Linked DNA regions of Homo sapiens: region 1 is linked to region 2. The links are contacts of gene promoters, found by promoter capture Hi-C in human tissues and cell types (Jung and others, 2019). All regions are on one chromosome and are shown on one strand. Each heading gives the region's core, a stretch centred on a gene start or on the middle of the fragment in contact. The rest is flanking DNA. Distances are from core to core; before and after follow the strand shown.

What was found. The method cuts DNA at HindIII sites, captures the fragments that hold promoters and counts their contacts. A contact is called where the count stands out against the background at its distance.
Region 1: a contact is called between a fragment that was not itself captured here and the fragment with the promoter of THY1 in region 2, in 1 of the 25 tissues and cell types used here (hippocampus).

The regions. Positions count from the first base shown.
Region 1 is chr11:119,270,933-119,277,459 of GRCh38, reverse strand. CBL (Cbl proto-oncogene) reads right to left here. Exons shown (of 16, transcript NM_005188.4): 3 at 5,579-5,725; 4 at 3,436-3,592; 5 at 2,507-2,628; 6 at 1,326-1,463. Among named protein-coding and RNA genes, the nearest start is that of MIR6756, 39 kb to the left of the region's middle. The HindIII fragment of the contact is 4,298 bases long and covers 735-5,032 here.
Region 2 is chr11:119,419,694-119,426,052 of GRCh38, reverse strand. It overlaps THY1 (Thy-1 cell surface antigen), which reads left to right and starts at 2,881. Exons shown (of 4, transcript NM_006288.5): 1 at 2,881-2,940; 2 at 5,124-5,184; 3 at 5,667-6,002. The coding sequence starts at 5,148. The region is part of intron 2 of USP2-AS1 (USP2 antisense RNA 1); the gene reads right to left. RefSeq lists enhancers at 3,003-3,568, 3,569-4,135, 5,835-6,359. The HindIII fragment of the contact is 13,176 bases long and covers 1-6,359 here.

The sequences.
Region 1 (6,527 bases), core at 1,634-4,133, 150 kb after region 2:
ATAGAAAATCATTTAGGATTTGTAGGCCACATTAGTCTGTGTCACATATTCTTCTCTGATTGTTTTTTTCAAAACGACTCTTAGGAAAAGCTATCTTGGCTCCCCGGGGGAACAAACAGGTGGCCCATGGGTCACAGTTTACCAACCCATTTTTAATCAATGGATGGCCACCAGATAGAAATTCTTTATGTGTGTGTGTGTGTGTGTGTGTGTGTGTGCGCGACAGATTCTTATTTTTTTTTTGAGGTTGCAGTGAGTGATCTTGGCTCACTGAAACCTCCGCCTCCTGGATTCAAGTGATTCTCCTGCCTCAGCCTCCCAAGTAGCTGGGATTACAGGCACCCACCACCACGTCCGGCTAACTTTTTGTACTTTTAGTACAGACAGGGTTTTGCCATGTTGGCCAGGCTGGTCTTGAACTCCTGACCTCAGGTGATCCACCCGTCTCGGCCTCCCAAAGTGCTGGGATCACAGGTGTGAACCACTGCACCCGGCTTAACTTCTTAGTTTAAACTGCATTTGCTTTTGATCAAAGAAGGTTTACAGGTTTAAGAAAATGAGAGACACCAATTTAAAAGCAATGTAACAATATGCAAATTAAGCTACTGAGATCATCTACCAGGGAGATCCACAGTTTCTAGCATCAAACTGTTCTGACATTTGGGGCAGCACTCCTTTCAGTCCCAATGCTATTGTAAGTAAAAGATAATGTATAATATAAAATGTATTTTCCTAATCACTTCAAAACACAAGCTAGTTTTCTGCCATCTGGTCAACTGTTAGTATTTTTAAGTGTTTACCAACTGATAATTAATTTGAATTCTCAAAGGAATAGCAATTCTGGAATAAATAAGGACTTAGTTATAAATAGCAGCATAGGTTACAGTAGCCCAAGGCCTGAAGAAATGCTGCTGAACAAAAGCGAAGTGAGGATGAAAGCAGATGAAGGCCACTGAGGCCTATGGCTATTAGGAACATTGAATCACTTGAATGCCGACTAGTTAAATAACTGGTCAAATTTCCTGCTAATTGGTATATTTTAAAACCTAACACAGGCTTGAAAATAAGTTAACATTTGGAAAAAAGAAAGATAAAGTTTATTTATGGTAATAACTGAAGTGGTAGAGAATAATTTCACTCATGGAATCCCTAAAAAAGAAAAACAAAAGTCTTCCAGGACCTGAAGGTCAAATCAATATCATCTGTTAATATTTTCCTGAATCTTAGTCTGCAGTTTAAGAAACCTGGAATAAAGTCATTAATGATGAGGTTGGACAGCCCCTAAGTTCCCAGACTCTAACAGATGGTATGCAGTAGGTACTCACAAGCCTTCCCTGAAGCCATCAATCAGTGCTTGGAAGAGAGGTTTATTGTGAGGGATTGTCTGGAGAATGTTCCCATCAGCAGTAACATACCCAATAGCCCACTGACCCAGACGAGTACAGCTCAGCCGGAAGATATAACTATGAACAGACATAAACAGAAGCTTTAGTAGATTATGCTGGTATTACGGTGGAAGGCAAGGCAAGATACAGACAAAAATCAAAAGAACCATCAAGAATAACAATAACTTTCTTCCTTTCTTTCTTTCTTTTTTTAAGATGGAGTCTGGCTCTGTCACCCAGGCTAGAGTGCAGTGGCACAATCTCAGCTCACTGCAGCCTCCACCTCCTGGGTTCAAATGATTCTCCTGCCTCAGCCTCCTGAGTAGCTGGGACTACAGTATGTGCCACCACACCTGGCTAATTTTTGTATTTTTAGTAGAGATGGGGTTTCGCCATGTTGGCCAGGCCAGTCTTAAACTTCTGATCTCAAGTATCTGCCCACCTTGGCCTCCCAAAGTGCTGGGATTACAGGTGTGAGCCACCACACCCAGCCAAGAATAACTACTTCTGAGCTTCAAGTCAGTGACAAGAAAAAAGAAAGAAAATATTTTTAAAAAGAGAGTAACTTCTTCCATGACTCCACACCAGAAGCAAAAGACACATAAACTCTATTCTTTTTTTGTTTTTGTTGTTTTTGAGATGGGGTTTCGCTCTTATTGCCCAGGCTAGAGTGCAATGACATGATCTCGGCTCACTGCAACCTCCACCTCCCAGGTTCAAGTGATTCTCCTGCCTCAGCCTCCTGAGTAGCTGGGATTACAGGCACCCGCACCACACCTGGATAATTTTTGTATTTTTAGTAGAGACAGGGTTTTACCACTTTGGCCAGGCTGGTCTCAAACTCCTGACCTCGTGATCTGCCCGCCTCGGCCTCCCAAAGTGCTGGGATGACAGGCGTGAGCCACTGTGCCCGGCCATAAATTCAATTCTTAAGTGGCCTGAAAACATTTATCAAATTATAGGATCTGAATTAAGTCAATACGTCTGATAAACAGGTATCAATCCTATTGCAGAACCTTGGCTATTGCGAAACTAATTAAGGTCATGTTTCTTCTATACTAGCAGAAGTCTCAAGATAACGAAATTCAGAAGAATAAATCTCTTTGCGTCATTGAACTGACCTGCCAGGTTTGTGAATGAATTTCTGGAGCCGAGCTTTCACTTCGTCATACGTCAAAAAAGCCATGTAGCCAGGATGAGTTACAGCAAGGCTGTTCCAATTCCTGAGCAAAGAGGACCAGGGCTAAAGAAACAAGATCAATCACAGACTATTCAGGTCAGATGTACAACCAACTCAGAGGGCAATGAGAAAAAAAAAAAACAACACCAACTCTCAGTTCATTGTCAGAAATTTTTAATTATACCATCACTCAGAGAGAAGACACATGTGTTCAGGAGATTAAAAACTCTGAAAAGCTACGAAGAAAAGAATATATGCTTATAGGGAGAAACTTGACACAAAATGAAAATTCTAGAATTTGTAAAGCAGCTCTAATTAACAGTAGTGGGGTTGAACAACAACAAACTGAAAACCAGGATAGGGCCTATAGGTGCAACTAATAAGTTCCAAATAAATGTGTATGCAAATTGGCACAGACAACACCAGAGAAAGCATTATTTTTAGAGAAAAAGAAAGGAGTTGTTTTTGAAGCATCTAAACATCTCAATATTAACAGTCAATTTCAATAAAACAGGAGAAACAGTTGCAAACATACACAAATATCCAATATCAGAAAACTAATATATTCATATTCTGGCCATTCTACAAACATTAAAATGATACAAAAGAAGAATATTCAATAACAAGGAAAGATGTGAGGAGAAGAAAGCAGTTGGTATAGCTGTCATTTTCACTATATATACATACACACACATACATATATTTTTAATATGAGATAGTTTTAATCTTTTTTTTGGCATAGTTCCTAAAATGAATTAAAATACTTTCATACAGACAAAAACCCCAAATGTTATTTAAAAAAAAAAAAAAAAAGCTTTCTCTTCACCGAAGTAGCAGTAACCAGTTTAGTCAACTTTTTTAGTGTCCTACCTGAAAGAGTCGGGTAAAGATGTCAAATTCAAAAACCGAAATATAATCATTGCAGGTCAGATCAATAGTGGATTTCAGAGCCATGGCCTCCAGCCCAGAACTGATGGGATGCACTTCATGTAGAGCCTGTCGAAAGCTCTTCCAAGGGACTATTGTCCTGGGGAGGGGGTGGAGAGGAGGCATAAAGTGAAATAACAGAGATAATTCCAGGCATCGCCATAATCAAGGAAAGGAAGGAGAGCCACATTAAGCTCTCAATACCAATTTCAATTCTCGTAATTCAAAATACAGGTCAACTTCTTTAAGAAAAGAAAGAAGGGGACCAGGAGCCATGGTGCATGCCTTTGGGAGGCCCAGCACTTTGAGAGGCCAAAGTGGGCAGACTGCTTGAGCCCAGACTGGGCAATATGGTGAAACTTTGTCTCTACAAAAACAAACAAACAAACAAAATTAGCCAGACTAATTAGTTCCAGCTACTCTGGAGGCTGAGGGGGGAAAATCACTTGAACTTTGGAGGCAGAGGTTGCAAGTGAGATCGTGCCACTGCACTACAGCCTGGGCAACAGAGTGAAACCTTGCTGCAAAACAAGAAAAGAAAAATAAAAAATAATTTACAAATAAAGACCAGGTCTTGTAATGTCATCCAGGGTAGTAGTCTCAAACTTCTGGCCTCAAGAAATCCTCCTGCCTTGGCCACCTAAAGTGCTGGGACTACAGGAGTGAGCCACTGTGCCTGGCCAAAAATGAAGGCCTTTAAAGAGAAACTTGGGCCTAACACAGTGGCTCACGCTTGTAATCCTAGTACTTTGAGAGGCCAGGGGGAAAGATTATTTGAGGCCAGGACTTCGAGACCAGCCTGGGTAACACAGCAAAATCCTGTCTCTGCAAATTAGCTGGGCCTGGCAGCACACACGTGTAGTCCCAGCTACTTGGGAGAACTGCTTGAATCCAAGAGTTTGAGGCTGCGATGAGCTATGATTGATTGTACCACTGCACACCAGACTAGGCAAGAGAGTGACATCCTGTCTCAAAAAAAAAAAAAAATAAAACGACAAAACCTAGGATATTTATATTTATACTTAAAAATACAAGCTTGATGCATAAATCAACCTATATAATATATAGAGAGACAATACAGCAAAACGGAAAAGGTAAGCCACAGACTGGGAGAAGATATTTGTAATGTAAGTATCTAACAAAGAACTAGTAACCTATAATAACAGAAAGATAAACCACTCAATAAGAAAATGGGTAAATCAGAAATAGGAACAGGCAAGTAAGAATAAGAATCTTGACTGGTCATAAAGGTGAGAAGAAGCTCAATCTCCCTTCTCATCAGGGAATATAAAGCAAAATATTACACCAATTCACATCGCCAGCGTTAGCCAAACTGTGGGGCTACTGTAAAATATGAACTGGTACACCATTTTGGAAAGAAATTGGACAATACTTAGCAAAGCAAAAGATGTAAAACCCCAAGACTTAGCAATTCCACTCCTGCGTATGTAAATAAAGACAATTTCTTGCATATGAAGACAACTTAGATATTGCTCACTGCTGATAGCAAATAATGTGAAATGTACATGTCCATTAAGAGCAGAATGGGGCTGGGCATGGTGGCTCACGCCTGTAATCCCAGCACTTTGGGATGCCGAAGCAGGTGGATCACGAGGTCAGAAGTCGAGACCATCCTGGCTGACGTGGTGAAACCCTGTCTCTATTAAAAATGCAAAAAATTAGCCGGGCGTGGTGGCAGGCACCTATAGTCCCAGCGACTCAGGAGGCTGAGGCAGGAGAATGGCATGAACCCAGGAGGCAGAGCTTGCAGTAAGTGGAGATCGCACCACTGCACTCCAGCCTGGGCAACAGAGCAAGACTCCGTCTCAAAAAGAAACCACAATGGATGGGGAGAGAAAGGGAAGAGTATTCAAAGAGCATGGGTTTCAATTTAATCTGCAAAACTATTTTTTAAAAACAATGAACAGAGCAAAAACTTAATATTTAACCAAAGCCAGGAAATACATACACATATATTACTTTTCTCAGAGTTCCCAAATTTTAAATATTTCATTAGTAAAAAAGTAAAGAAAAAACTCGTAAGCTTTAGTTTTTCATAGTTCAAATTCATTATTCTGAGACTTACTTTTCCCCAAAAGCTTTTCTCCAAAATTCCGCAGCATCTGCTTTAGTAATCCGAAATGTGTCTCCCTGAAAGAGTCCACTTGGAAAGATTCCTTTTAGTTCTGCCAGCATGTGGCTGAAGATGAGGGACAGTTTGGTTAGGTTTCGCCTACAAATGATCAGAATGCAATAATTAAACACATAAAATTATTTTTATTTTAAATGCACCAAATTCACCATACAAGATGTATAATTAACATGAATATTAAAATACATTTAGAAAGAACCTCTTCAAATATTCTTTCTGGCCAGTATTATTCAAGGATATAAAAAAGTAGAGAAGAGAAAAGAAATGCGCTGTTGAGGATGTTACATATTCAGTGATCTTGTTCTTTATTTAAAGAAGGGTTTTAGAAACTTTTTGCTGTAAGATCATATGAAAGATACAAACACAATGAAGAAATACTGTTGCATTCACTGCCTCCACTTGTATCTCCTCCATTCAAATAGATATTATGAAGTAAACAAGAGAAAAAATTTAGTCATATATCTTAAAGCTTTTAATCTTGAATTAATAAAGCTTAATAGCTAAGCATGAACATGGACAAATTTACTTTTTTAGGATGACAGGTAAGAGAATTCAACAAATAAGTGTAAGAACTTATGCACTGCTATAATCACTCTATCACGGAAGAAAAAATGTTAGGAAACCAATGTATTATTTCCTGCTTTGCAGGTGTATTTATCAAGTATATTTATCATCATATAACATATCTAAATAAAAGATAAATAAGTCTTAATTAAAAGAATTTTTAAGTATCCAGACCTAATAAATGCTTTCTTTCACTGAACCAGACCTTAAAGAGATAAATTTTACCCAAACTCCTCTTCCTTTACCAAAAATGAGATGCTAACATCCAAACCACACAAAAATTTCTACATAAGTGCATATGCTACTGTTAACAATTACT
Region 2 (6,359 bases), core at 1,632-4,131:
GGGAGCACTGGAGAGCACAGTGGGAACATGGAGTCAGGAGACTTAAGATCTAATAGTCCAGACCATGCTTCAAAATATTTGTCTGACCTTGACAAATCATTACCTTTCTCGGGCCTCAAGTCCCAGCTATAAAATAGTGGGGCAAGCCAGGTGCAGTGGCTCCCACCTGTAATCCCAGCATTTTGAGAGGCCAGGCGGGAGGATTACTTGAGCCCAGGAGTTCAAGATCAGCCTGGGCAACATGGTGAGATCCCATCTCTACAAAAAAAAAAAAAAAAAATTAATTAGCTGGGCATAGTGTCAAGTGCCTATTGTCCCAGCTACTCAGGAGGCTGAGGTAGGAGGATCACTTGAGCCCAGGAGGTCAAAGCTTCAGTGAGTGGTGATTGCACCACTGCACTCTAGCCTAGGCAACAGAGTGAGACCCTGGCTCAAAAATAAAATAAAATAAAATTTAAAAGATGGGACCACTGTAGTCACCTCTGTGATTCTAGAAAGACAATCTGATGAAATGAGGGAATGGCTGGCAGTCCCTAGGTCATGCTAAAGGACTGTGTGTTTTTAGAAGAGTTTTTATCCCCATATGTTTCTGGGTGGGAAAACAGGAGATGGTGGGAAAAGAGAGATCTAAGAGACCAACAGGGCAGCCGCAGTCTTCTGGCAGGAAGTCTTGCCTTAGCTGGATTCCTCTAAAGCCTTGCTGGTTTCAGCACTCCGATCCTATCCACAGTAAATGGAGTTTTAAAATCTCCTCCCTCCACCACCTTGTGCTCTATCCCCTGACCTCAGATGTCTAATCAGAGCCATTAATTCCATCCAATCAGAGATCTTGCTTGGCAGACACAGAATTGCCACACCTTCTACAGTCTATACTCCCCTCCCCTGCCTAAAAGCAAGGTGCTTGGGGACCCAGAAATTAGGCCAGGTCCTCATAACCTTATCAAAATAGCACTGCTAGGCCTTCCACCCAGCAACACTCAGAGACAGGGCCAAAGAGTGGGAAACGGAGCATCCAGGGCCTCAGCCAGCAGAGCCCAGATGCCTTCTGCAGTTAAGATCCCTGGACTCAGAATCAGAAAGCTGTTAAGCAGGAAGGAGTGCGCTGCCATGAAGAGGCAGACAGAAGCCAGAGCCAGTGTGTCTGGAATGCATCAGGTAGATGAATGGGAAGATGGCTGGGATGGAGTTGGAGGGAGGAGGGAAGTCAGCAGCCAGGGGCCAGGACATTCATGGCCTTAAAAAGTATCCTACAAACAAGAAGCCAGGTTAGCTCACCTATGAAGAGGGACAGTCTTACCAGATCATGTGTTAGAGTCCCCAGATCCTGGGGAGCGTGAGAAAAGTGCAGACTCAGCTGGCTCTAGTACTAGATTAAGGAGGTCCTAGGTGGGCAAGGCCAGCTGCATTTTTCATAAAATGCCCTAGAAACCTCTGCAGTTTACCAAAGTGAATAGCTCCTTTGGACTTAACCATCTGCAAGGCTCATTCCAGTTAGAGTGTTCCATCACCCTAAATGCTGGGAAACCAAGCGAATCTCCTCCCACTTGCAAGCTTCCAACAGTGGCTTCCAACAGTGCCACTGCAGTATCAGAAACTGCAGGGAAGGTGCCAGGGCTGACTTCCATGAAGAAATAGGAGAACAGGCAGGCAGACATTGGGGAGGCCCACAGAATGTCGTGATCAGAATTCATAAAGAGGCTGGCAGGATACAAATCAATCAAATAAACGTTAGTTCAAAAAAATTCACTACACCTGTGAGTGAGAGAAAGTCATCAGCACTGTCTCTAAAAATGAGCCTAGGGCTTCTGGTGACATCCAATCGGTGGGTTATCAGGAGTGCCCCAGGTGATCAGGAGTTGGCCTCGACTCAGTCCTTTTTGTGCTGTCTCCTCCTCTTTCCCAGAGTTCCTCTCTCTCTTCTCCCACTAGGCAGGGATGAGCAAGAGGAATGGCTCACCCTTGAGAGCTGGGGTCCATAGCCCAGGTCAGTTCTCCAGCTCTCCCACTTACCAGCCAAGACAGGAGGTGAGGATTGAGATGGGATGAACCCAGCAGGCGGCCATGGGTTAAAGGTCGCCATGAATGTAATGTGCCCAGCACAGTGCCTGCTAAAAGGCAACACTCCCTTCCTGGTCTGAAGACCAAACAAGCAGACTGTACTCAGGAAAGCCAGAAGAACCTTCCAGCTGTCTGGACCAGAAGGTGCCAGCCCAGGGGCTGAAGAAGACGTAATGCCCAGAGCAAAAAGCGCCTGCAGCCCCCTGAAGGGCTGGGTGCTCTGGAATAGATGAGGGGGCGAAATGGGGCTGGGGACCAGGGACGGACAGGGTGGGTCCAGCACCTGCCTCGCTTCCGAAGGGCTGCTCCAACACTGAAAAACACCCAACCAGCTTCCTTTCAGAAAGACTGGAATATTCCAAAACTTCTCACTGGAGGCTCCGGAGGAGGTGGGCTCCAGCTGAAAAGGAAATGTGGAGGCGTGGGCGCTCCCGGCCTGCATCCTGCACCTCTTACACTTTGGTTTTCCCACAGACTCCTGAAGAATAGGTCAGAAGAAAGGGTTAAAGCCTTAAAAGGGGAACAACCATTGCGGGGCTCAGGGAGGAGGATAATGTTCTTTGGGCTGCCGCACCCTGATCCCCGGGGTCCCGAACCCTCCCGTCCCTGGCCAGGCCTGCCAGCCACAGGGTGAGGGCCCCCTTCCGCCGCAACCTGCCACTCTCACACCAATGCGGGACCGCCTTCTCTTCCTTCCCCACCCCCCACCCCACCCTGCCGTCCTTTCTCCCCCAATCTCCGCCTCTGATTGGCTGAGCCCCCGGCTCCCCGCTCCCCCTCTCCTCCATCCCCGGTGAAAACTGCGGGCTCCGAGCTGGGTGCAGCAACCGGAGGCGGCGGCGCGTCTGGAGGAGGCTGCAGCAGCGGAAGACCCCAGTCCAGGTGGGAACTGGAGCCGGTGGGACCTGGGGCTCGGGGACCGCCGTCAGGCGCCCATGCAAGACTTCCCAACACTAGGCTTCGGGCCACGGTCCGAGGGCGCCCAGGGAAGAAGGGCGCAGAGCTTAGGGAGGGGCCTGCTTTCCAGGCAGGGGCGGGAGGGGGATGCTTCTGCAGGGCAGGGGCCGCGTGGCACCCTGATGTCTTTCGGGGAAGGCGCTCCCGGGCTTTCGCCCGCTGGGGGACTGGTGTCTGGGGCTGGGGCGCTGGAGAACAGGGAGGAAGGGCACCAAGGACAGCCTGTGGGTCTACATTCCACCCAGACGTCCCCAAACCCAGCTCGCAGAGGCGGGGAGGAGGACGGATGAAACTGCGGGGAGAGGATGGAGGATGGCGAGCTAGAGGGAATCTGCCGGGTGACCTCGCGGCGGGCTGGGTGCGGGGCACCGGAGGAGAAGGAAGCCGCAGTGCCGCAGGCGGGGACTGGGTGGAAGGCGGGCGGACGGGGGAGGGGAGAGCTGGAAAAGGATGAGAGAGGGGGAAGGGGGACTCATTTGGGAAAGGAGAGGATTGGAATACGGAAATGGATTAAGGATGAGGCCCGCCGGGGGCTTGAGAGGGAGGAAGAGCAGACCTTCTCTGGGTCTGGAGCCGCCTGAGGACACAGACCAGAGGAAATGAATACAGACTGCACCTCCCCAGCCGCTCTCCACCCCTCCCCTGGCTCTTCTACCCTCTCCAGCCCCAGACCCATTTCTTCCCTTTCTTGCTCTGGCCATTGCTCCCCCTTCCCCTCCTAGATCCCAAGCCCGCACAACATCTCAAACAAGAGTCCTCGATTCAAAAGCCAGATGCCGACCCCCCTTCCTCCTGGATCTGGCTCAGGGCAGCAGCTCCACCCCGGGACAGAGAGAGCATTGATTGTAGCTGCAGCCGCCGCGGGATCCTAGCCTCACCCGTCAAGGGGCTGAGCGCCAGGGACCCTGAACTCGTCTAGTGGTGCGCCCTGCGCACCCGGGCGCACTCAACCGAGGCAATGCCCTGCGCGCTCTCGCGGGTGCACGCCCCTTCTGTGGCCTCTCCTGGGCGAGCACTGCTCTGCAGATAGGCTAGACTACCGGCTCCGCGTCGCCTCGCCAAGGGTTGGTTCAGCCAAGGCTGCAAAAAACAAAAAAAGACCAGGCAGACAGCCTATCCAGGGTGGCTATTGAAACTGGGCTGGAAAACTGCAGTCCCAGGAACTCCAGAGAGCTGGACATTGGGAAGCATCCTTGGCTCACATACAATCGGAGATCACTATGTCTTTCTCTCCTCCAGGAACACGATTAGCTTGTGTCCTATCCAGATAGGAATAGATGCTCCCTATCTGGGAGCATCCTTAGCTATGGTGAATGGTATCTAGCCATCCACTGGGGATGGCGAGTGACTTAGGGATTTGTGTCTCACGTATATGAAGCAGTCATCGCCAGATGTTGGTTGTTTTTCTTAACCCCCATCATAACCCGGTGGGTATGTAAGATTCAGAGAGATTCATTCATTCATTCACAATAAATATCTTTGGAGTGTATGCTATATGCCAGTAATCTGCAAACGGAAACGGTTTTGAGCATTGGGGATTTTCTTCTGAACAGGAAATGGGAAGTCCCTAAATGGGGAGTCTTTGTTTAACAGATACAGAGTTTTACTTTGAAAGACAAAAAGAGTTCCGGAGATGGGCTGCATAGCAACGTGAATGTATCCAGCACTGCTGAATATACTGAATTTAAGTACTGAATTTAAATGGTTAAAATAGTAATTATTATGCTTTTTGTATTTTACCACGATTAAATTTTTTTTTTAAATACGAAGCCTCAGCCCTCATAGGTCTTATATTACCATACACTATGTTAATGTAAGAAGAGGAGAAAGAGTGGTAAAGTTACTTAAAGTCACCCAGCTAGTAAGTGCTCCATGGCCAAGCGCAGAAACACACCGTGACTGGGCTTGTTCTCCCTCCTTCCTTGCTTTCCCTGAGCAGGAAAGAGCCAGTGGCAGTATCATGTTCAGTGAGATGCAGGGACGAGAGGGGGAATGGAGAGAGGGACTTAGATGACTGCCATAGCCACTATGCCATGTTCCCAGGGACCCCCAGCCCTGGTGGTAAGTGTGGCACAGCTTGGCTGATTCCCATCCTGTTCCCACCCCAGATCCAGGACTGAGATCCCAGAACCATGAACCTGGCCATCAGCATCGCTCTCCTGCTAACAGGTACCCGGCATGGGGCAGGACTGGGGCTCCAGGCGCCCTGGCTTCCTTCCCTCCAGAGAAGCAGCTTCTCCCTCACAGTCTCAGAAAAGCGCAGGTGACAAAGAGAGGGCTCTTTTTCATCCTGAAGTCAGCCAATCCACCGCGCTGATATTCTGACGGCCTGAGGTGGTTTTTGAAAACACAGTTTGCTGAGCCCTCCTTCACACTATTGAACTAGAATCCCCAACTGAGAACCCGGAACCAGCATCAACTCCCTAAGATCTCCTGTCCTTGAAACACATTGATAGGATCCAAGGCTCAAGCAGAGTGGGGAGGGAGGCTGGGGTCTGCAAAGGAGAAGTGGGATCCCTGGGGTGGGGAAAGGCACTCAGAGAGCAGACCCCGGTCCCCTCCCTAGCCAGGCCCATCTCTCCACTTCAGGTGGGTGGGAGGCCCCTGTGCCGCAGGCCCCTCCAGTTTGAAGGAGGCACTGCTGGTGCCAGTCTTGCAGGTCTCCCGAGGGCAGAAGGTGACCAGCCTAACGGCCTGCCTAGTGGACCAGAGCCTTCGTCTGGACTGCCGCCATGAGAATACCAGCAGTTCACCCATCCAGTACGAGTTCAGCCTGACCCGTGAGACAAAGAAGCACGTGCTCTTTGGCACTGTGGGGGTGCCTGAGCACACATACCGCTCCCGAACCAACTTCACCAGCAAATACAACATGAAGGTCCTCTACTTATCCGCCTTCACTAGCAAGGACGAGGGCACCTACACGTGTGCACTCCACCACTCTGGCCATTCCCCACCCATCTCCTCCCAGAACGTCACAGTGCTCAGAGGTGAGACAAGCCCCTAACAAGGTCAAGTGAGCTGGGAGAGCCAGGCTCGGGGACAGCAGGCAGTTCCCTTGGCTGGACTAGAGAGGAGAATAGCCCCATAACGCTCTCACCCTCTCCCAACTGCTGCCTGGTCAACTGGGGAACCATTGCCTTCGGTGTGAATGGGGTGAAGAGCTCAGGGCCAGACAGGCAGAGCAGTGTGGTTCCACCAGAACTGTGGGCAAGGCCTTTGGCCTCCCTAATCTTCCTTCTCCCAGCGGGAAAACAGGGATGACACCACCTCCCTCAGCCAGTTTTCTTGTCATGATGTTTAGTAAGGTTTTCATAAGATGATATGTGTGCAAGAGATCAGTAATC